7 separate regions of the Homo sapiens genome follow, and regions 1, 2, 3, 4, 6 and 7 are each linked to region 5. Evidence: promoter capture Hi-C in 16 types of primary human blood cells and fetal thymus (Javierre and others, 2016). All regions are on one chromosome and are shown on one strand. Each heading gives the region's core, a stretch centred on a gene start or on the middle of the fragment in contact. The rest is flanking DNA. Distances are from core to core; before and after follow the strand shown. Region 1 overlaps LOC124902939 (a long non-coding RNA gene). Region 2 holds the start of ZNF385A (zinc finger protein 385A). Region 3 holds the start of HOXC12 (homeobox C12). Region 4 has its middle 8.7 kb from the start of MIR615. Region 5 holds the start of SMUG1 (single-strand-selective monofunctional uracil-DNA glycosylase 1). Region 6 overlaps GPR84-AS1 (GPR84, ZNF385A, ITGA5 and GTSF1 antisense RNA 1). Region 7 holds the start of FLJ12825 (a long non-coding RNA gene).

Region 1 (2,700 bases), core at 54-2,553, 170 kb after region 5:
ACCTACCCTGGGCAATCCTGCAGTGCAGCAGGAGAGGTGAGAATTGGGGTCAACTTCTAGGACCCTCAAAACGACCCACATCCCCGGGGTCCCTTTCTTAGAGAGAATGACATTTTCCCCCAAGACCATCCCTAGTTTCCCTTCCCAGTTCAAATGGTGGCTTATTTGAAATCTTTTTACAATTAAAAATAAAATTAAAGCCCAAGATCTTGGTCTCTACTTCCTTTTTGCGGGGAGGGGTGCAAGGCAGTAAGCCTTTTGGATCGTGTCAGATTGCCCATACCCACCTGCCTTTCTCAGAAAAATTTCCTGATTCAATGTCTGGGCAGCTGGGATGTACTACCGAGGCCTGAAAAAATAACCTTTTACTGCCCTGAATTCCACCTTCTGTGCTAAAATTTCGAGCAGCCTGTTTTTCCAGACCCCTAATTTTGAAGGTGAGTCCAGAATAAATTCCCCCATAGAGACTATTTGCCGGGGGAGGGGTTGCAGGCAGGTCACTCTCCCCACGGGCTCGAGATTTGAAGGCCGGCATCTCTCCACTTGGTCCCGCATCAAGCTGGCATGGGAATCTCAATGGTTGGGTGCCTCAACCCTGACCAAGAGGGGATACCTCATGCCTTCCCCAGACTTCCTCCATAGTAAGAAAAGCAGTTCCCTAGGCCGGATGCAGGGACCTCGTTTCTTTTCACAAACCCACCCATAAATTTTATAACAGGTAGTTAAAAATTACGACAAGGAAGCGCTGGCCCAGCTTTTCACAATGGGCAGCGGGGAGAATGGGACGGCGCTGCGGGCAGCTCACCGGAAATTTTACTTCTAGACTGTGGCACAACCTGTCCTGAATTCTCCCTAATTGGGCGGGGTAACTTTCCCAGCCAGCAGGCAGTCATTAGGGCATCTTATCTGGGGAAGATAAGACTGGGGAGACCAAACCACTCGCCTATCCAAGGGTCCCTCAAGGAGCCCTTCAGGACGCTCACTACCTCTCTCACCCACCCCCAGATCTCTTGCAGGTCCGCACCTTCCTTGGCTGATGCAATGAGGGAGTGGGGAGGAAAAAAAATTTAATCCAGAGAAACGAATTTGCCCCCCAACTTAATAGCTGCATTATTCCAGCTCTACGGTTGAGATTAGAATAATAAATTCAAGGAGCAATGAGCGAGATGCTTCAACTCAGCATTTTGAAAGATACTATTTTTCACAAATCACAAATGGCTTTCGGAAGCCACTTTGATTGGCTAATAAAAAAGTAAAGAATGGGAGAGAAAGTCCTATCTGCAGCAGCCGAATGGTCCCCATTCCGGTAATGGGACGGCGGGAGCATTTGGGAGGACGCGATTCTAAAGAGAGCGCATCCCGCTCACAATTACGTTCCCCCATAAAACGGGTTTTTACCTCCATTTCTTTCCAAACGAGAAAACAGAGGCGGTGGGCAGGAGGGGTGGGGGAGCGGGTACTGCATGAGGGGGTGGCTGGGGCTCCCTCGGCTTAGCCCTCTCCATGCCTGGCATCTCGAGTAAAGCCGGGCGCCAGACGCACCCCGCCCTCCGACGCGCCGGGCTTGGGGCCACGGACATTGCTGAACAGGACAAGGGATAAATGGCACATTTGGTGTGGGGAAAAGGCGGCGAGGCCCTTCGGAGCCATTTAATGCTGGGTTCATTCCGCTAGGCTACTGGGCCAGATATTTTTATTAATAGCAATCATAATTCCACGTTTAAAAACGAAACGGGACCTCAGCCATCCCTCGGAGTATGGAGGACACGCCTGTGGGAAGGCCTGAGGTCTGAGCGAAATGGCCTCTTTTCTGGCTTCCCTGGTGGGTAGCCGGTGTCTCCCACTGAGAACAGGTTACCTGGCTGGTGCCGCTGCTCACAGCAGGGACCCCAGGTTAGAGAAGATTTCCCGGAGCTCCTGCTCAAAGCTGCCCCAGCTGCCTGCAGCCTGTGCTTCCAATTCACAGCCTTTCTCGGACTGCAGGAGTCCCCCTGTGAAGGAAGCCCGACTCAATTCTCTACTCAGGCCCGATTTTCAGGCCCGGTTTGCGTGGGGACCAGTGACTGGGACCTGGGTGAAATTCCACAAAACAAGAGTTGGCCTGGGCCTAGGTCTGGGAAAATCATTGACCAGGAGCTAGACAGATGAGGGGTGGGGAGGACAGAGAGAGAGAGAGAGAGAGAGAGAGAGAGAGAGAGAGAGAGAGAGAGAGAAAGAAGAGAAGAGAAGAGAAGAGAAGAGAAGAGAAGAGAAGAGAAGAGAAGAGAAGAGAAAAAGAAAGAAAGAAAATCTGGCCTCAAAAATATTTCAGCCTTCGGGGGTCTGGTTTTTAAGACCAGAAGATCCCTCCCCTCCCTTTTCCCCTCTCCTGACTGAGTCAGAAGACTTGTATCTCTGGAATTTGGGATTATTTGACCAGAATCTTATTGGCATAAACAGAATTTTTAAGTCCAGGACTCTCCAGAGAGAAGTGAGAGACCCTTCTACCCCCTGGGTCCCTGAGCCTTCAATTCTTCATTTTGGGGAATGAAGATACCAATAAAGACGCCCTCTTACCCCGCTGTGACTGGGGTGGCAGGATGTCCACTCAGCAGGCCCATCCTCCAGGCCAATGGCCCACACTATGGGGGCTGGGTAAGCTGACCAATTGCCAAGGTGAAGTGGGGAGTGGACTTTAAACCGTCTGAACAGAAGTTGGAG
Region 2 (2,700 bases), core at 53-2,552, 190 kb before region 5:
AAGGTTGGGAGAAGGGGCTCTGAGAATGGCCTAGGTAGTTCACCTCCCAGAGCAAAAGCCACCCAACCCACTACCTACCCCCACAGATGTCAATAGTTAATAAAGAATTATAGTTAGAGCAAAATCTAATTCTAGGGCATCTGAGAGATTCAGCAGCCCCCCTCCAAATCTAAGTCTCAATATCCCCCTCTGGTCAGTAGGATGAATCACCCACTTGACTCTCTTCTTCCTGGGGCGATACCAAGCTTTAGGATCCCCTGGGGGAAAGCAAAACCAGAAGAAGAGGGTGGCCAGGGGCTTGAGGCTGGGAGTCCTGCTGGTTCAGCAGGCAGCCTGCAGAAAAGGTATGAGCTCTTACTGGGTCTGTAATGTGCCTAAGGAGTTTGGGGGAGGGAGGCTGGAAAAGGGGGAAGTGAAAACCACCCAGAAGGGAAGGACTGGTCTACACCCTCCCCCAGGCCCACAGGGCACTGTGCTCCATTGCTCTGGAGCCAGCAGGGGAAGTGTGTACACTATGTGCACTGAGGGTGACACTTCTGAGTGTGGGGGCCCTGGCTAGGGAGTGGGACTGGCAGGCTTGGGTGGGGTTCCCAAGCTTTAATCTTCCTACCCCACAGAATGTTTTCTCTGCCCTTCAGGCAGCCTGAGCCGGGCAGGGCCCCTGCCTCTGCTACGGCAGCCCCCGATCATGCAGCCCCCACTGGACCTCAAGCAGATCCTGCCCTTCCCACTCGAGCCAGCCCCTACCCTTGGCCTCTTCAGCAACTACAGCACCGTAAGTAGCAGCCTGCCTGCCTTCTCCATCCTCTTGTGACCCGACCTTTCTCTCTCAGACCCACCTCTGCCCTCTTCTTCTGTTTCTAATTCCTTATCTCCTCTTATGACCCCATCTTCCTTAATTCTAGTTAATTTTGAGTATTGTGGGCCATCTGGTACAGTGTTAACAACAATAATAATAGCTAATATTTGCTGAGGTCTTGCTACGGGCCAGACACTGTGCTAAGTGTTTTATATGAATTATCTCATTTAGTCCTACAGTGAATCGCCCTACCATCTAGAGAAGTAATGAGACTTAAATTGGTGGTAGTAACAGTAGGGAGGTAGGAGGGGTGTAGGTGCTGAATCCAGAAAGAGGGAATGAGCAGGAAAATAAGCATGCCTGTTTGTAAGTTTCACCTCTCTGCAGTCCACGGCTGGGTGGGTAGCATCAGTGGGATAGGGCTTGGAGGACTGGCAAGGTGGTCTAGATTTAATACAATATGAAATAAGGAGGTGCTGTCTATTCGTGTGTTTGTTTGTTTGTTTTTATGAGACGGAGTCTCACTCTGTTGCCCAGTCTGGTGTGCAGTGGCACGATCTTGGGTCACTGCAGCCTCCACCTCCCCAGTTCACCGATTCTCCTGCCTCGGCCTCCCAAGTAGCTGGGATTACAGGCGTGTGCCACCACACCGGGCTAATTTTTGTATTTTTAGTAGAGATGGGGTTTCACCATGTTGGCCAGGCTGGTCTCAAACTCCTGACCTCAGGTGATCCGCCTGCCTCAGCCTCCCAAAGTGCTGGGATTACAGGCATGAGCCACCACACCCAGCCGCCACTGTCTATTCTTGAGCAGGAGAGTGACTTGGTAAGAGCAGTGTTTGAGGAAGGTGAGTGGGGCAACTGGATGAAAGGGAACAGAGGCAGGAGGAAGGTGACAGTTAGGAGGCTGTCCTAGCAATGCAGGCCCGAGGGAAGCCTCAAAAGCCAGACGGGGCTGGTGGCAGTGGCAGTATGAGTGGAGAGAAAGGGAGAATGGGGGAGGTAATTTCAAGGAAATATTGACAGGCCATGGTGACCAACTGGTGTTTGGGGGTGGGGGAGAAGAGAAGGCATGAGTCAAGGATGACTCCAGCATTCAGGCCTTTGTGATTGGATGGAAGTCACCACTGACAGAGGCAGAGGGTTGGAAGAGGAAGCTGGTCTCCAGTGAGGATGATGCTTTAGCATGTGGTGCTAAAGCTAAAGCTTTATTTGTTTTGTTTTGTTTTGTTTTGTTTTTGAGATGTAGTCTTGCTCAATCTCTCAGGCTGGAGTGCAGTGGCATGATGATCTTGACTCATTGCAACCTCCGCCTCCTGGGTTCAAGCCATTCTCCTGCCTCACCCTCCTCAGTAGCTGGGATTACAGGCACGTACCACCATGCCCAGCTAATTTTTGTATTTTTAGTAGAGATGGGGTTTCACCATCTTGGCCAGGCTGGTCTGGAACCCTGACCTTGTGATCCACCTGCCTCAGCCTCCCAAGTGCTGGGATTACAGGCTTGAGCCACCGTGCCTGGCCTATTTGTTTTGTTTTAAAAAATAATAATAAATATTTTTTTTAAAAAAAAAAGGATATGGTGATTTGGCATACCAGTAGGACATTGAGCCCAAAATGTTCTACAGATAGTTAGAATCTGAAGCCTGGAAGGTGGGCTAGAGCTAAAAGTTTGGGGAAAGTCAGCCTTATTCAACTTAAATAACCCACATCAAACCATATTTAGCCATAAACATGTATTGAGCATTGACTACACACCAGGCACTGTAGCAGATGTTTCTATCTGCAATCTCATTTCACCTTCACAACAACCCAACAAGGTAGACATTATTATTCCATTTAACAAATAAGAAAGCAAAAACTAAGCCTCAGAAGGGTTTAGTAATTTATATAAGTTGACACAGT
Region 3 (2,700 bases), core at 117-2,616, 230 kb after region 5:
CCTTGGCCCTTCCCCAGACCCTTTCACCTTCGCCTCACAGCTGGACTCCAGGCCCTTTCTCTCCCTTCTCCTTGCCGCCAGTCATCTGAATCGTCTTTTCTACCCAGACCCACATCCCCACCAACTCCCCCACTTTCTTTACTCTTTTTTTTCCTTTCATTCTTTGCTCTTACCTCCTCAACCCTACCTCCTGCTGCACTATTCATGACCCTTCTAAGTCCCTATCCCCTCCTTTTTTCCCAAACCTCTCCCCAATTTTCTTCTTCCCTATTTCCTGGTCCCTTCCTCTCACATCCTTCAGGACTGGATCCCGGATCAGTTACAACAGATATGGGCGAATGGCAGAGTAAACGCATCCACTGGCATTTCTTTCGAAATGTAAGTAATGGGGTCTGTGGGAAGGTGGAGGGAGAGGCGCCTGGGAGAACTAGGGCCGGGCTTTCTGTCCCCACCTCCTCACCCCCAGGCCTGGGGAGTCCCCGTCAGGATCCCCCAACTCCGGAATCCCTGCCGCCTCCAGCCGCAGGCAGACGAAAAAGGAACACTCTCCATTTCTTTTGTGGGGATGTTTACATGTTTATAGGCTCCCCCCACCCGCACTTCATTTTATAAGAAGCTCTTCCTCGCCACACATTCTGTCACCCTGGGCGTCCCTAGCTCAGTCCTGTTCTGCCCGCCCTGGTAAGAGGTCGGGTTTGAATCCGCCGCTTGAGTGGCCGGGGTCCTTACCGCTGGCCGAGAGCCCGCCGCCGGGGTTCAACGGCGATACCAAGCTGCCGGGGTCGCCTGCGCCGGCGCCCTTGTTGCCCTCGTTGAGCAGGGACGAACTGGAGTCGGATTCCAGCGACTGGCAGGAGGGCGGGTCGTGCGGAGGTCCTGCGCCGCCGCCGCCGTCGCCACCGCCGCCGCCCGCCGCGTAGTCGTACTTGAAGCCGAGCGCAGGCGGCCCCGACGGCTCCAGCGGGAGCAGCGCTGCCCCGGGCCCGGCTCCCGGGTCGCGCCCGCGCTCCTCACGCTTCAGGCCCCCGCCGCCACCCTCGGCGCACGGCTCGCGGTAGTAACCCTTGCCGTCCTCCACGCGCGCCAGCTCGCACGTGCGGCCGAAGGGAGGGTTGAGAGACACTGGGCTGCCGAGGTAGGGCTGCGGGTAGCCATTGCACGGCTCCGCCGACGGCCAGGACAGGGAGCACACGTTGTCGCGGCGTGGGTAGGACAGCGAAGGCAGCCCGGGAAGCTGCGCCCCGGACGCGCGGAAGTTGGGGAAGTAGAAGGTGTCTCCCGTGTGGATGTTTACCAGCGGCCCCACAAACCCGGGATTCAGGAGATTATGCTCGCCCATTTCCGCGGGGCCCGACCGGCAGCTTCTACTTTATTGCTATCTGACATTAAACATAGTTAAATCTGCACCAGTCACCCATTGGCCGCCCCACTCACGTGGGCACGGCCGCCAGGGGGAGGGGTGGGGACAACCGATCCCCCCCCCCCACCATCCCATCCCGCACTCTAACTTCCCCCTTCCCCAATCCTGGGGGTGAGTGGGGTAACAAAGGGCGGGGGCAGGTTTATTTGCTGAACTGATTTTCTAAAACAATGTATATAACCTAACGCAGAGAGTAAAGCAATTGCCCAACACGGGGCAAAAGGGAAAAAACACACACCAAAAAATGCCCGCATATATACACCCCTATAACCTGCACCCCCCCCCATATATTATCTTATCGCCAACAGCTGGCCAAGCACAGCCTGTCCCTCTTTAATTAGCTTCTTTATTAACTAAAACCGTTGGAATTTACAATATCTCCTCAATAAATTACTATTAGATATTGTGTCATATAAAGTTTACTGACTGTTTAAGGAGACGGATGAGCCCTTTGGCTCGGGGTTTATTTACAGTAGAGGCGAAGTGGGGGTAAGGACAGGTTTCCCTGCCGTTATCTCTTCCCGCCCCAGCTGCTGCTGCACACTTCTTTATCAGCTCTTTATCCTCAGGAATTTGGAGAGACATTTGGAGTCCTCTTCCCCAATACTCAAGGATAATTGATAATGCCGGGTTTTCCTCTGGAGCCGGGAGCCACCCAGCCTCACACCTCCACTCACGGCTAGAGGAAGGATGCGGAAGGGAGGTAGAGAATGCAGCAAAAGGAGGTGCCTAGCTCCACATGGACCTGCCTGCCTGCTCCTGAAAATCTGGGGGCGAACTACTCTTCTGCTGTCATTTCCGGGGAACTGAGGAGCTTCTGGGGGCCTCCTGGAGTCTTTGCAGTGGGAAGCTTTGGACCCCTAACAGGGCTTGACTGGGCTGAGAGGGGCCTAATTCTCACTGCGGAGGAGACAACTGCACCCCAGAACCGGCCAAGCCTGCCCCTGGGACCATCAGATAGCAGTGCAGAGGCCCGCAGTAGGTTGCCTCCTGAGGGGGCTAGGATTGAGGGAAAAAACCCTTGAAGAATTATCTTATTGGGGGGTGAAATTATATTTATGGTGCAAACTCAGAAGCTCCCTCCAGAGAAGGCCGAGAAGCAATGCTGGCCATTGGTGAGATAATCAACATCTGCAAAACCACAATCCGATCTCAACTAGGTCCACAGAACACAGCCAAGCGGATTAAAAAGAAAGACAAAATAAAACTCCCCCAAACCAGATGTATCCTTTTGGGGTCTAATAGAAAAAACACTCGAATTTCCATGTGATTATTTCGAG
Region 4 (2,700 bases), core at 164-2,663, 150 kb after region 5:
AACATAAAATGAAAGACCTGACCCTTACTACTCCCTAAACACACACACACACACACACACACACACACACACACACACACACACACAGCCTGTGTTTTCCAGCCAGAAAGTTGACTTTTAAAAGAAGTATTTACTAGACAAGATTTATCTCTAATGTCTGAGCAAGGGAGCCCTGAGGAGTTTGGAGTTTGAGCTTGGAACAGAAGGAGAGGGGGATTAGATCAGATAAGATTCTGGCCTCCTTGGACCCTCCATGTCTCTTCAACTCCTGACAACTCAATCTGGGCCAACACAACACTGAAGATCACAGAAAGCCTGGCTGCCACCATCCCTGGAGTCAGCTCTAGCGTTTGAGTTTTCCAGAAAGGCAGAAGGAAGGAAACTCAACAGCTGCGCAGGGCTTGAGGGGTGGGGGTGGGGTGGGGAGGACAAATGGTTTCCAAGCTGGGCTGACGGGAAGAATGGAGTGGGAGGGAGGAGTGGGAAGTTGGTTCCATGCTGGTTACTGTGTCCAGCCCAGGCTTCTGACCTCTACCATACCATCCTTGGGCACATATATGTGTTTCTGTGTGTTCAGGTATTCTGGTGTTCAGGGCCAGGGGCTGGGGTAAATGAGAATCTTTAGAGGGCAGAACCAAGCCTGAACTGCCTCTCTGAGACCTGTGGTGCAGAACTGAAAGGATCCTAGGTGACCAGGCTACACATTTCACCCAGCCCATATGGGGTTGCAGATCACTGTAGAACTTTCTCTGTACATGTGTACAGATGCAGAGAAGCAGCCTTCTCCCTGCACTTGCTCCCCAGCATGCCTGGAGCAGTGGACCGGCTCAGGGCCCAGCCCAAGTGTTCAACCTCTTCTCATAGCTGCTAAAATGTGGTCCTTAGAGGCTGAACAAGGTCCTGCATAACCGAGTCCAATTTTCCCAAGTCCCACATTGCACACCCATACCGCTTCCTCTGAGGTATCTCTGTTCCCCTTTTGCCTCTCAGTGAACCTTAGGATTGGGAGAGGGAGATGATTACAAGGGTTGTGTAGGCCTCAAAAATAAAGAGATTTGTATCACCGAAGTTCCTCAACCCAGACCTTGTCTGGCAATTCCTTGGGCTCCTGGAGCCCCATCAAAGCTGCTAGCAGAGATAGTATCAGTACAGACACACCAATGTGGGTCACAAGGAGCCAATAAAAGTTGGGAGGGGTAGGAAAGGATGTGACTTTCTTGGCTCTCAAACAGCATCGTCTTCTCCTTAAATTGAATCATTCACCCCAAAACCCTAGTTTGGCACCCTGATTTCAGATTTTCTTTCTCCTTCACCTCAAAGGGCTTCAGGGGCCCTAGTCCCACTAAAGAAGAGGCTCAGGGTGGTGGTGCTTGTCTTCTCAGCAAAAAGGACCTAATTAAATCCTAGAACAATGATGTTTCAGCATTCCCCCTCTCAAAAACTCAGTCCAAAGCAGTTACAGAGAACGACAGTCAAAAAGAGAAAGTTTACCTTTTTGAGGCACTCACAAGGAGGGGTCGAGGCACTCACAAAATCTCTTTTCCCAGTGCCTGTGTGGATAGAACCAATCTCCCCCTGTCTTTGTTTCCTAACTCTTCATGAGATCTGGTACCCCAGTGTGAGAAGTCCACATTGAGGGTGAGAGTTGGTCTCCAACAATCTGCCACACCATTCACTGGGGAAGAATAAGTGTGTCCTTTAATTCTAACTCATAAAAGAGGCAAATGGGGCTGGCCACGGTGGCTCATGCCTGTAATCCCAGCACCTTGGGAGGCAAAGGCAGGCGGATCATCTGATGTCAGGAGTTTGAGACCAGCCTGACCAACACGGAGAAACCCTGTCTCTATTAAAAATACAAAATTAGCCAGGCGTGGTGGTGCATGCCTCTAATCCCAGCTACTCAGGAGGCTGAGGCAGGAGAATCGCTTGAACCCAGGAGGCAGAGTTTGCGGTGAGCTGAGATCCTGCCATTGCACTATAGCCTGGGCAACAAGAGTGAAACTCCATCTCAAAAAAAAAAAAAAAAAAGAAAAGAAAAGAAAAGGCTGGGCGCGGTGGTTCACACCTGTAATCTCAGCACTTTGGGAGGATGAGGCGTGTGGATTACCTGAGGTCAGCCTGGGCAACATGATTAAATCTCATCTCTGCCAAAAATACAAAAATTAACTGGGTGTGGTGGTGGGCACCTGTAATCCCAGCCACTTGGGAGGTTGAGGCAGGAGAATCACTTGAACCCAGGAGACAGAGTTTGCGATGAGCCGAGATTGTGCCATTGCACTCCAGCCGGGGCGACAAGAGTGAAACTTAGTCTCAAAATAAGCAGATGGAGCAGTGTGGTTGAAGGTAACTTGAAAAGTGAGGGCTCAATGATTTCTGAGAAGAGCTGCTCTTTTTCTGGCTTCTCATCCTTATCCTTCCCACCTGGCCTGTGGCATTGTCCCCAAACCAGCTCCATCCAGAAGACAAACAATGAGGGGATTGTTGACAAAGCCCAGCTCAGTCCGGACTATCCTTCCCATTCTTGTACTCTTAATGCCCCCAGGGGGGTGCTTAGAGGTCCAGGTGCCACAGTCCATCAGAACTCCTGCCCCTTAGCTCAAAGAGGGCAAGAGATCAGGAAGAGAAGGGGAGGAGAACCCAACCAGAAAATTCACTCTGAAACAAAGCTCTAGAGAAGTGGCTGGGGGAGAATACCTGGGT
Region 5 (2,700 bases), core at 99-2,598:
CTAAGGTGTGTGGAGATTGTGGGGTGGGAGGAATATAGAAGATAACTAACCTTAGGGGGTTCCCAGTCTAATGAAAGTTTTAGAGTCACGACACAGAACCAGACCCAGATAGAGCACAAGAACAAAACTAGGAATAGGACAGATTTGGACATAGATATTGGGATGGGGGAATGGTGGGGGAATGGACTGTTAGGTGCAGCCATGGGATGAGGATTGATCAGGGAAGCCTTCCTGGACAAAGTATTTGAGGGAGAAGATTTGGATGGAAGAGTGATAGCTAACTTTATGTGTCTACTTGAGTGGTCTAAGGGACACCCAGATAGCTGGTAAAACATTATTTCTGGATATGTCTGTGGAGTGTTTCTGGAAGAGATTTGCATTTGAATTGGTAGACTAAGAAGATCACCCTCATTAATATGGGTGGGAACCATCCAATCCCTTGGGGGCCAGTAGAACAAAAGAGTGGAGGAAGGCAAATTCTCTTTCTTCATGAGCTGGGACATCTATTTTACCTGCCTTTGGACATCATTGGAGTTCCTGGTTCTTCGTCCTTCAGGCTCTGGGACTTAGCAGTGAGCCTCCTCCCCTGCTTTGGACTTTCCTGAATTATACCACCTGTTTTCCTGGTTCTCCAGTGTATAGACAGCAGAGCGGGAGACTGTGGGACTTCTTGGCCTCCACAATCCTGTGAGCCAATTCTTGGAATAAATCTCGTCATATAGATAGATATCCTGTTAGTTCTGTTCTCTGGAAAACTCTTGACTAATACTGAGGTTATAGGGTTGGGCAGATAGCAAGGCAGAGAAAGAAGTCAAAATGGTGACACTCTGGAGATGGGCTTGGACAGTAATGGGGGATGCCCCTTGCTAAAAAGTTGTTAGGAGCTACCAGAAATGTCTTCGTGGATGTTCTGTATAAGTAATGGCAGGCTGCAAAGGAGAAGTCTCTTATACCCACGGTGGCAGGGGGCCTAGCAATGGTCTTTAGCTATTGTTAATACCTTCAGGTGGGTGAGGGATTGGGGATGGTTGAAGCTTCCTGATTTGCAATCCCTTTGGGAAAATAGTGAATGAACTTTTGGAAGGGCGATGCCCTTTAGGGATAGAACCCAGGATTTCCTAGGTACTTACAGGCTGTGGCTTTTCACTTCTCAAGACTTCCTGATTTAACGCTGATGGAAAGATTAAACTACAATTCCCAGCGATCTTTAGGGCTAATTTAGTGCGCCTTCCGGGATTGGAGCATTTCCGGCGGAAGTGGCTGCGGGTACGCCAATCTCCTTCCCTAAACAATGTAGACTACGACTCCCACTGTCCTTAGCGCCGGGGGTTGGGTTTGGGGTGGGGGAAAGGAACCGGAAACGGGATGGGGAGCTGGACCAGGTGAGGAAGTAGGGGGCTGGGAATCCGGGACTGTGGGGGCAAGTTGACGGCTCCCAGGGTCGTCGGGGCTGAGCCGAGAGGGTGGTTAGAATTTCTATATTTTGGGGTCCCTCCCTCCGTATGGGGTAAGACTCAGTGCAGGGAGAGCCCAGCCTATGAAACCGCCTGGGAGGTCTGCAGGATCAAGGCTTTCCAGTCGGCCGGAGCCAGCGGGCGCCCCCGGAGGTTTTGTATGGTGCCTTAGTAGTCGGCCCCTTTGGAACCAGATGAAATGGTCTTTTTGAGTTTATGCTTTATTATTATTATTGTTTATTTATTTATTTTTCTGAGACGGAATTTTGCTCTGAATTCCAGGCTGGAGTGCAATGGCGCGATCTCAGCTCACTGCAGCCTCCGCCTCCCGGGTTCAAGCGATTCTTCTGCCTCAGCCTCCCGAGTAGGTGGGATTACAGGCGCGCGCCACCATGCCCAGCTAATTTTTGTATTTAGTAGAGACTGGGTTTCACCATGTTGGTCAGGCTGGTCTCGAAGTCCTGACCTCGTGATCCGCCCGCCTCGGCCTCCCAAAGTGCTCGGATTACGGGTGTGAGCCACCGCGCCCGGCCTATGCATTATTATTATTATTATTATTATTATTATTATTATTATTATTATTTATTATTATTATTATTATTATTATTATTTCGTTTAAGGATATTTATTATTGTCCCTGGACTCCCGGAGTGCCTCCAAAGGACAGGGGAGTGCATATGTGATTTCGATTCCTTCCTCACTTCCCGGATTTGATGTCAGAGAAGTCTGACATCAGTCTGAAGTCGGCCCTTGGTGGTCAGCCTTATCGCTTGGTCCAACTCCGCTGTCTTTGTGCTTAATGTAGTATGACACCGTATTTTATAAAATATCTACATTTCTTAAGCCTCTGGCTCTTGGGGCGACTTTGGGTAGAACTTACAAGTTCCTCCTTTGGGTTCTCTTAGTGTTTTGTTCCGGGTATTAAAGCTCACATCACACTGTATTACAGTTAGTTGTTTATTTGCCCTCACAGCAGATTATGAGCTTACAGAAAGCCTGGCCTACATTTTACTCTTTTTGGATTTCTTCCTCATCAAGAGACTGCTGCAGTGCCTGTCATGTAAGAGACTCATAAGTATTGAAAAAAAAAATGAGTTAACAGGTGGTAGGTTGGATGGAGTATGTGATTTTCCATAGAGAAGAGAGTTAAATGAGTTGCTCAAGAGAACCTTCTTAGAGATGAAACAGGAGTAGAATTCAAATCAATTGACTTCCAGCCTGTGGCTCTTGCTATGAGATCAGGCTT
Region 6 (2,700 bases), core at 154-2,653, 170 kb before region 5:
CATAGTTAGCTCTCGGAACTTGAGCAGATCTCTGGACCACTCTGGGGCTCAGATTTTATCATCTGTACAAAGCGGGGTGCGGGGTACACTCTTAACACGTGCCCAGTGCAGTTCCCTGTACATATATTATTTCATGTAATCCTCACAAAATTACCATGAAGTATCTATTATAATTTCTTTCTTACAAATGTGAAAACTGAAGCACAAATAGGTTAAGTAATTTGTCCAAGGCCGAATGCCTAGTACGTTGTAAGACCGTGATTTGAGGGCAGAGTCTCAAATCCGCCTTTCTAAAACTAGGATCAAGTGTCCAGATGATCCCTAACTGTCCTTCCTATTCAGACCTTCTAAGATTCTGAAAGTTGACAACTCTGAAGAGTTGTAAAAGGATTCACTTTACATGTCCTTAGAAGGCAAATCACAACGGTGTCAAGTAGAAAGGTGAAGCAATAGGGATTGAGGTTAGACCTCAGAAAGGACTTCCCAATTATCAGTCGCTGGGGGGAAAAAAAAAAAACTCAGGAGACACAGAAGGAAATCCTGGGGTCTAAGACCATAGAGGACAGATCTTAGCAAAAAAGCAGCCACCCGCCACGGCCCACACATCCACCCCAGCCCCTAATTTCAATAAGGGCTGAATGAGGGGAATGAAACTGAAGAAAAGCCAGGCTTTCTTGAGGCCTTCTCTCTCTTGCGGTTGTGCTTGGCGAGTGAGGCCATGCACTGGGTCCCTCGTGGTGCGTTGCTCATGCGTGTCTCGGGATGTGTGTGTGTTTGGAGGCCCTTTATGCTCACGAGTGTGAGTCACTGTCTGTCTCTCTTTGTCTCTTTATCTCTGTCAGTCTCTCGCCCGAGTCCGAGCTCTATCCCTGACTTTCTGACGCTATCTCTCACTGCCTCTCTTTGTCTCTTTCCATCTGTCCGTCTCTCCTGTAGGCTGTCTTCATCTCCTGTACCTCTGTTATCGCCTTTTTTTTTCTCCTAAGCTCGTCTCTCCAATCCCCGCTGCCGCGCTCCCCCCGCCCCCTCCCCAGTCGCCCGCCCGGGCTGTTCTTGCTCGTTCGCACGCTCTCTCTCTTTCGCTGTCTCTTACAGGCAGATTTATGGTCAGCCCAGGGCCTTTCATTGGCCAAGCGCTGACAGAACTTGATTTAACGCCGCCTCTCATTGGCTGAGCTTGACAGGCCGATTTACGAGTCACTCTACCATTGGCCAAACCACCTTGGCCCTGATTTATGGCTCAGCAGCCGCGGGGAGGGGGGTGCAGCTGCTAGGGAGTGAGGAGTGAGGATGCCCCTCCCCTCCCCTTCCCGCCGCGTCCCTCCTCCTCTCCCCCGCTTTTTTCCCCTCTTTCCCTCCCCTCAAGGAATGGCGCTCCCTCTACCTGTTCCTCAGGCCCCCTCCTCCCTTCTCTTTCGTCCACTGGGAGGGGAAACTGGGGTGTGGTGGTAACGGGAACTGAAGGGATGATGGGGTCTGAGGGTACACATGGGCCGAGGAGTCGAGTTTGAGGGGTGTGGATGGGGGCCGACAGGGAGAGCAGAGGAGACTGAACAGGGAGAGAGGATTCCGAGCTGAGGAACGAAGGGGAAACTGAGAGGGCAAAAGGATGACAGAAAGAAAGGAAGGTTGAGGAGAGAAGGAAGGCAGGGGAAGAGAGAGAGGGTTAAGGAGCTAAATGGGGGGTTGGGTAATTTGTCCAAGATCCGAGAAGAAAGAAGGAGAGATGAAGAGAAAGGACACATTTGAGGGGCCACACGGGCTGAAGCAGGGAAATCGGGCATCGAGAGAGGGACTTTTCAAATCTCACTATCCAGACTGAATAAGAGACGGAAATTTCCTTTTCACACAATGGCTCTGAAAAGGAAAAGCATTAGAGAAGCAAAGACAGAGAAAGGCGCAATAGGGAGGTGAGAGAGAGGGAGAAGCAGGAAAGGACAACTGGAAGGTAATAGCAAAGAAAAGAGAGAGGGAGAGCGACAGAGAACTAATGGGAAAGACCAGGAGGAAGGTAGGTTTTTGGTTTTTTGTTTGTTTTTAGGGGAGGGAGGAAAGGTGCCGTGAGAGAAGACTACTCCCCAACGGAAATATTGACAGAAAGGCTCCTCCTCCTCCCCTATGAAGACCCATTGGCGTCTGCAAGGGGACAGACGAGTCAGGCGCCTCCCCCAGGAGATATTCTGCTTCCTCAAGGCTGCAGTAAGCTCCCCATCCCATGCACCTCACTCCTCCCCTTGCCCACCTCCCCAGTTAAATTTATGAGTCCAGGGTGGCCTTCAGGAATTAGGAATATTTATGCTTCTTTGAGAGTGAGATTTAGAAGGTGATAAATAAGGGTCCACTGGGGGGTGCAGCTGGGGGCTCCTATTTTTAACATGGCCATTTTCCCAAGGCCCCACCCACACATTCCCTCTCCTCCTGAGCCAGAGAAGGAAGCACAGACGGAGGTGAGGAATGGGTTTCAGGTATCAGGAAGAGGGGTTGACTATCCTGTAGAGCCCCTCAGAGGACTGCAGAGCTTTGCAGCAGAAAGGATTGAAGGCAGATAGGGGAGGAACTTTCCAAGCATCCTGGCATTCGTATAGCCCCTAGTGTGCAGTTACAACATTTTTGCAGAAGGTGGGGAGAAGCCCATTTCCCCCCTGTCCCCTTAAGCTCAGTTGCTGAGGAATAGGGGAGATAAGCCAGAAAATTCAGAGG
Region 7 (2,700 bases), core at 90-2,589, 130 kb after region 5:
GGAAGAAAGGAGAGGCTGGGATCTAAAGGGCGAGACCCTCAGGCCCAGCGGAGTTCACCGCGCAGTGAACCCGCTCAGCTGGCCACGCATCCCGCGCTCCCCGCCCCGCGCCCCTATTGTCCGCCCAAGCCCGGGGTCGTGACCCAGCTGAAGGCGACACCGCGCCCAGGGCGGACGTGGCGTGGAACCCAGAGGAGGAGCCTGGCTGCCGCTGGCCCTTGAAACTTCGTCTTTGCCCCGGCTGGCCCCATTTCGCGATCCTCAAGACCCTGGCCTCTGTGAGAAGGGGAGCTGGGACACCCCCACCCCATGAAGACAGTCACATTTTGCCCCATTCTCTCGCGGCCAGGCTTCCCGGGAAGCCAGAGCTCCAGAGTGGAACCTAGGGTTTGGCTATCTGGCAGTGCCTCCTGCACACTCGGTTCCAGGGTTTTTTTCTGCCTGGAAATTAAAATACTGTATACTTTCCTCTCCCGATCTTTGATGCTGGGAAAAGAGGGAGTCAGAAAGGAGGAGTGAGTAGAAGCGACACTATTTTGGCTTCACTCATACCCCATCGAGGCAGGCAGAGCTGACCCTAGAGGATGCTGCCTATTCAGGAATCTGAAAATTGTTGATGGGGCCCGGAAATTTAAAATAGTCCCTTCCTCTTTATTAGGCTCTGTAACCCTAATCGCCCTCAAACATAGTCTGATATTCCCTACCCATCCTTGTCTTCCCTTCCTCCTGATTTATCCTCCAGGCCTGGCAGAAAGTGGAAGCAGGAAGATGAGGCTGCAGAGGCCCTTATCCCGGCAGGCCTGGATGTGGGCTCTGCTGGATTGGCCCTGCGTTCAAAGAGCTACGGAACTGACACCAGAGAGAAGAGAAGAAAAACCCGGAGGAGTGGAGGGAGAGCCAGGGGCTCCTGGCATTGGAGGGCTGATGAGCAAAGCTCCAGATCAGCTTTAGCTTCTTTCTGCTCCCCAAGCTCCAAAGGGGTCTGAGCTCCTTGAGCTGCGCAGGTTTTAAAATGTTCGAGGGCTCCTCACAGATCTGTAGCTCAGAGTTCACTGCCCCCATTTTTAATTATCAAGAGGCAGCTAAAACTCCAACACCCGGAGCAGCCACACGCTGCAGGAGAAAAATCAAAATGGGGCTGGCAATGCAGGGTGCAGAAAAAGCAGGCTGAGAAGGGTGGTCAGCTCTATCAAAAACATTGGTAAGAGGCAAAGACTTTTTTTTTTTTTAACAAATCCCCCAAATGTTTATTTTGGGCTCCTGCCCATCCAGATAAATCAAGCTAACAGATTAGGAAGTTCATAAAATTGTATTCTTAGGTAATGACATCCAGAGAGGTAATAAATATTCCCTCTGCTCTGGTGGCCGCTGGAGTTCTGGTGTTCAGGGATCTTCCATCTCTCATTCCAAGCCTGAGAGGGGTCTCTTGGAAGGGGAACATTTAAATTAAAATTAGCTCTCCATAGGTGCAGTGCCAGATAGAAGCTGTGGAAAACCCGGAGCGGTGGTTTTGTGAGTGCAATAGCTTGCTCCCCCAGGACTGGGCAAAAGGCAGAGAAAAAGATGGTACAGTTGCTCCAGCGCACTGCTCCTCCCCGTCATAGCACCCTTGATCTTAAGGGCCCCTTTCAGAGTCAGTCTCCCCTAATCCTAGAAAAGCAGAGAAGGACACCCTGGCTCCAAGCTCCCAGCAAACCTTTTAATTGTTTTCACTTCCCTACAACTCCCCCCAACACACACACACACACACACACACACACACACACACACACCCCTAGCTGTGGGAAGCTGTCTCTGGATTTCAATCTGCCAAGTCCAAGCAGAAAGAAAACTGAAGCACAGATTGCAGAGAAAACTTTGTAGGAAACTTCACACAAACAGCAGCAAGAGACCCTCGGAAAGGCAAAGTGCCCCAGTCCTTTTCCCTCAGTCTCACTTTCTCAGACTCTCTCTTTTTTGAGCCAAATTTCTTTACTCCCCAGGTACACAGACTCAGCACAGAACCGTCTTTTTCTCCAAGCAGAACCCCTCCGCTTACAATTGGATTTCCCGCCTTCCCTGCCTAAGACCGGGAGTTGAGACAAAAATTGAGTGGCAAATAAGAGTTTAAACTTTTGTGCTCCTCACCCCCAGAGCAGACCGAGTGCTAACTACTTACGTGTCAATGGGATCTTTGGCCTGTGGGGATCTCCTGGCGCTTGGAGAGAAGGAACCCTGGAAGATTGGTGTCGACATTTCACCCGTCTTCTTTTTACTTAGCCATTGAAGAGAGAGGGATACAATGCACTTACAGGCATTCATGCGCCTTGCCTCTCCCATTACTCTGGGCAAGAAATCCCCAGTCCTACAAAAGCAGTGGCATCCTATCTGGAGACCAGGGCTGAGCAAGGGCTGGCTTGGGAGGGTCAGAGATGGGGGTGGGGGAGAGGTCAGAGGCGCTGCCGAATATAAAGGCAATGGGAGAGAAAATGCTGTGTCCTCCCCGTGAACCTGGGCTGTGTCCTCCCCCCAGCCTTTCCCCACTGCTCAACCCAACTTAAATAAAAGCCCAGCCCTCAGCTTCCCAGCGAGGCTGTAGCAGCATCAGGCAGAGCAGCAGGGACCAAGACTGCTGGAGCTTGGGGCCCTCGGCCCAGACTGGCCCCCCACATCCCAACCCTGCCATGCCATTCTGGGTTGCCAAGTCCAAGGCAAAGGAGA

The links. The method cuts DNA at HindIII sites, captures the fragments that hold promoters and counts their contacts. A CHiCAGO score of 5 or more calls a contact.
Region 1: a fragment that was not itself captured here is called in contact with the fragment with the promoter of SMUG1 in region 5 in 17 of 17 cell types (total CD8 T cells, naive CD4 T cells, naive CD8 T cells and 14 more); the score reaches 36.7 in total CD8 T cells.
Region 2: a contact is called between a fragment that was not itself captured here and the fragment with the promoter of SMUG1 in region 5, in 1 of 17 cell types (erythroblasts). The highest score is 5.4, in erythroblasts.
Region 3: a contact is called between the fragment with the promoter of HOXC12 here and the fragment with the promoter of SMUG1 in region 5, in 3 of 17 cell types (naive B cells, total B cells and naive CD8 T cells). The highest score is 8.1, in naive B cells.
Region 4: a contact is called between a fragment that was not itself captured here and the fragment with the promoter of SMUG1 in region 5, in 15 of 17 cell types (total B cells, total CD8 T cells, naive B cells and 12 more). The highest score is 15.9, in total B cells.
Region 6: a contact is called between a fragment that was not itself captured here and the fragment with the promoter of SMUG1 in region 5, in 1 of 17 cell types (fetal thymus). The highest score is 5.4, in fetal thymus.
Region 7: a fragment that was not itself captured here is called in contact with the fragment with the promoter of SMUG1 in region 5 in 9 of 17 cell types (total B cells, total CD8 T cells, naive B cells and 6 more); the score reaches 11.4 in total B cells.

What each region holds. Positions count from the first base shown.
Region 1 is chr12:54,013,518-54,016,217 of GRCh38, reverse strand. It overlaps LOC124902939 (a long non-coding RNA gene), which reads left to right. Exons shown (of 2, transcript XR_007063323.1): 2 at 1-205. Among named protein-coding and RNA genes, the nearest start is that of HOXC8, 5.9 kb to the right of the region's middle. The HindIII fragment of the contact is 3,080 bases long and covers 1-2,700 here.
Region 2 is chr12:54,382,503-54,385,202 of GRCh38, reverse strand. It overlaps ZNF385A (zinc finger protein 385A), which reads left to right and starts at 470. Exons shown (of 7, transcript NM_015481.3): 1 at 470-775. The coding sequence starts at 689. The region is part of intron 1 of GPR84-AS1 (GPR84, ZNF385A, ITGA5 and GTSF1 antisense RNA 1); the gene reads right to left. The HindIII fragment of the contact is 1,409 bases long and covers 598-2,006 here.
Region 3 is chr12:53,953,569-53,956,268 of GRCh38, reverse strand. HOXC12 (homeobox C12) reads right to left here and starts at 1,366. Exons shown (of 2, transcript NM_173860.3): 1 at 730-1,366. The coding sequence starts at 1,339. It overlaps LOC105369775 (a long non-coding RNA gene), which reads left to right. Exons shown (of 3, transcript XR_944977.2): 2 at 302-378; 3 at 1,990-2,700. The HindIII fragment of the contact is 3,202 bases long and covers 1-2,272 here.
Region 4 is chr12:54,041,306-54,044,005 of GRCh38, reverse strand. It overlaps a transcript of HOXC4 not described here. Among named protein-coding and RNA genes, the nearest start is that of MIR615, 8.7 kb to the right of the region's middle. The HindIII fragment of the contact is 4,734 bases long and covers 1-2,700 here.
Region 5 is chr12:54,187,633-54,190,332 of GRCh38, reverse strand. It overlaps SMUG1 (single-strand-selective monofunctional uracil-DNA glycosylase 1), which reads left to right and starts at 1,348. Exons shown (of 4, transcript NM_001243787.2): 1 at 1,348-1,382; 2 at 2,431-2,514. It overlaps LOC105369777 (a long non-coding RNA gene), which reads right to left and starts at 1,236. Exons shown (of 3, transcript XR_944984.2): 1 at 1,131-1,236. The HindIII fragment of the contact is 2,636 bases long and covers 1,037-2,700 here.
Region 6 is chr12:54,357,748-54,360,447 of GRCh38, reverse strand. All of the region lies in intron 1 of GPR84-AS1 (GPR84, ZNF385A, ITGA5 and GTSF1 antisense RNA 1), which reads right to left. It also overlaps a transcript of GPR84 not described here. Among named protein-coding and RNA genes, the nearest start is that of GPR84, 5.4 kb to the left of the region's middle. RefSeq lists silencers at 822-1,001, 1,152-1,221, 1,232-1,471 and enhancers at 1,029-1,853, 1,854-2,678, 2,679-2,700. The HindIII fragment of the contact is 3,720 bases long and covers 1-2,700 here.
Region 7 is chr12:54,058,023-54,060,722 of GRCh38, reverse strand. It overlaps FLJ12825 (a long non-coding RNA gene), which reads right to left and starts at 2,469. Exons shown (of 2, transcript NR_026655.1): 1 at 2,159-2,469. RefSeq lists an enhancer at 2,571-2,700. The HindIII fragment of the contact is 9,317 bases long and covers 1-2,700 here.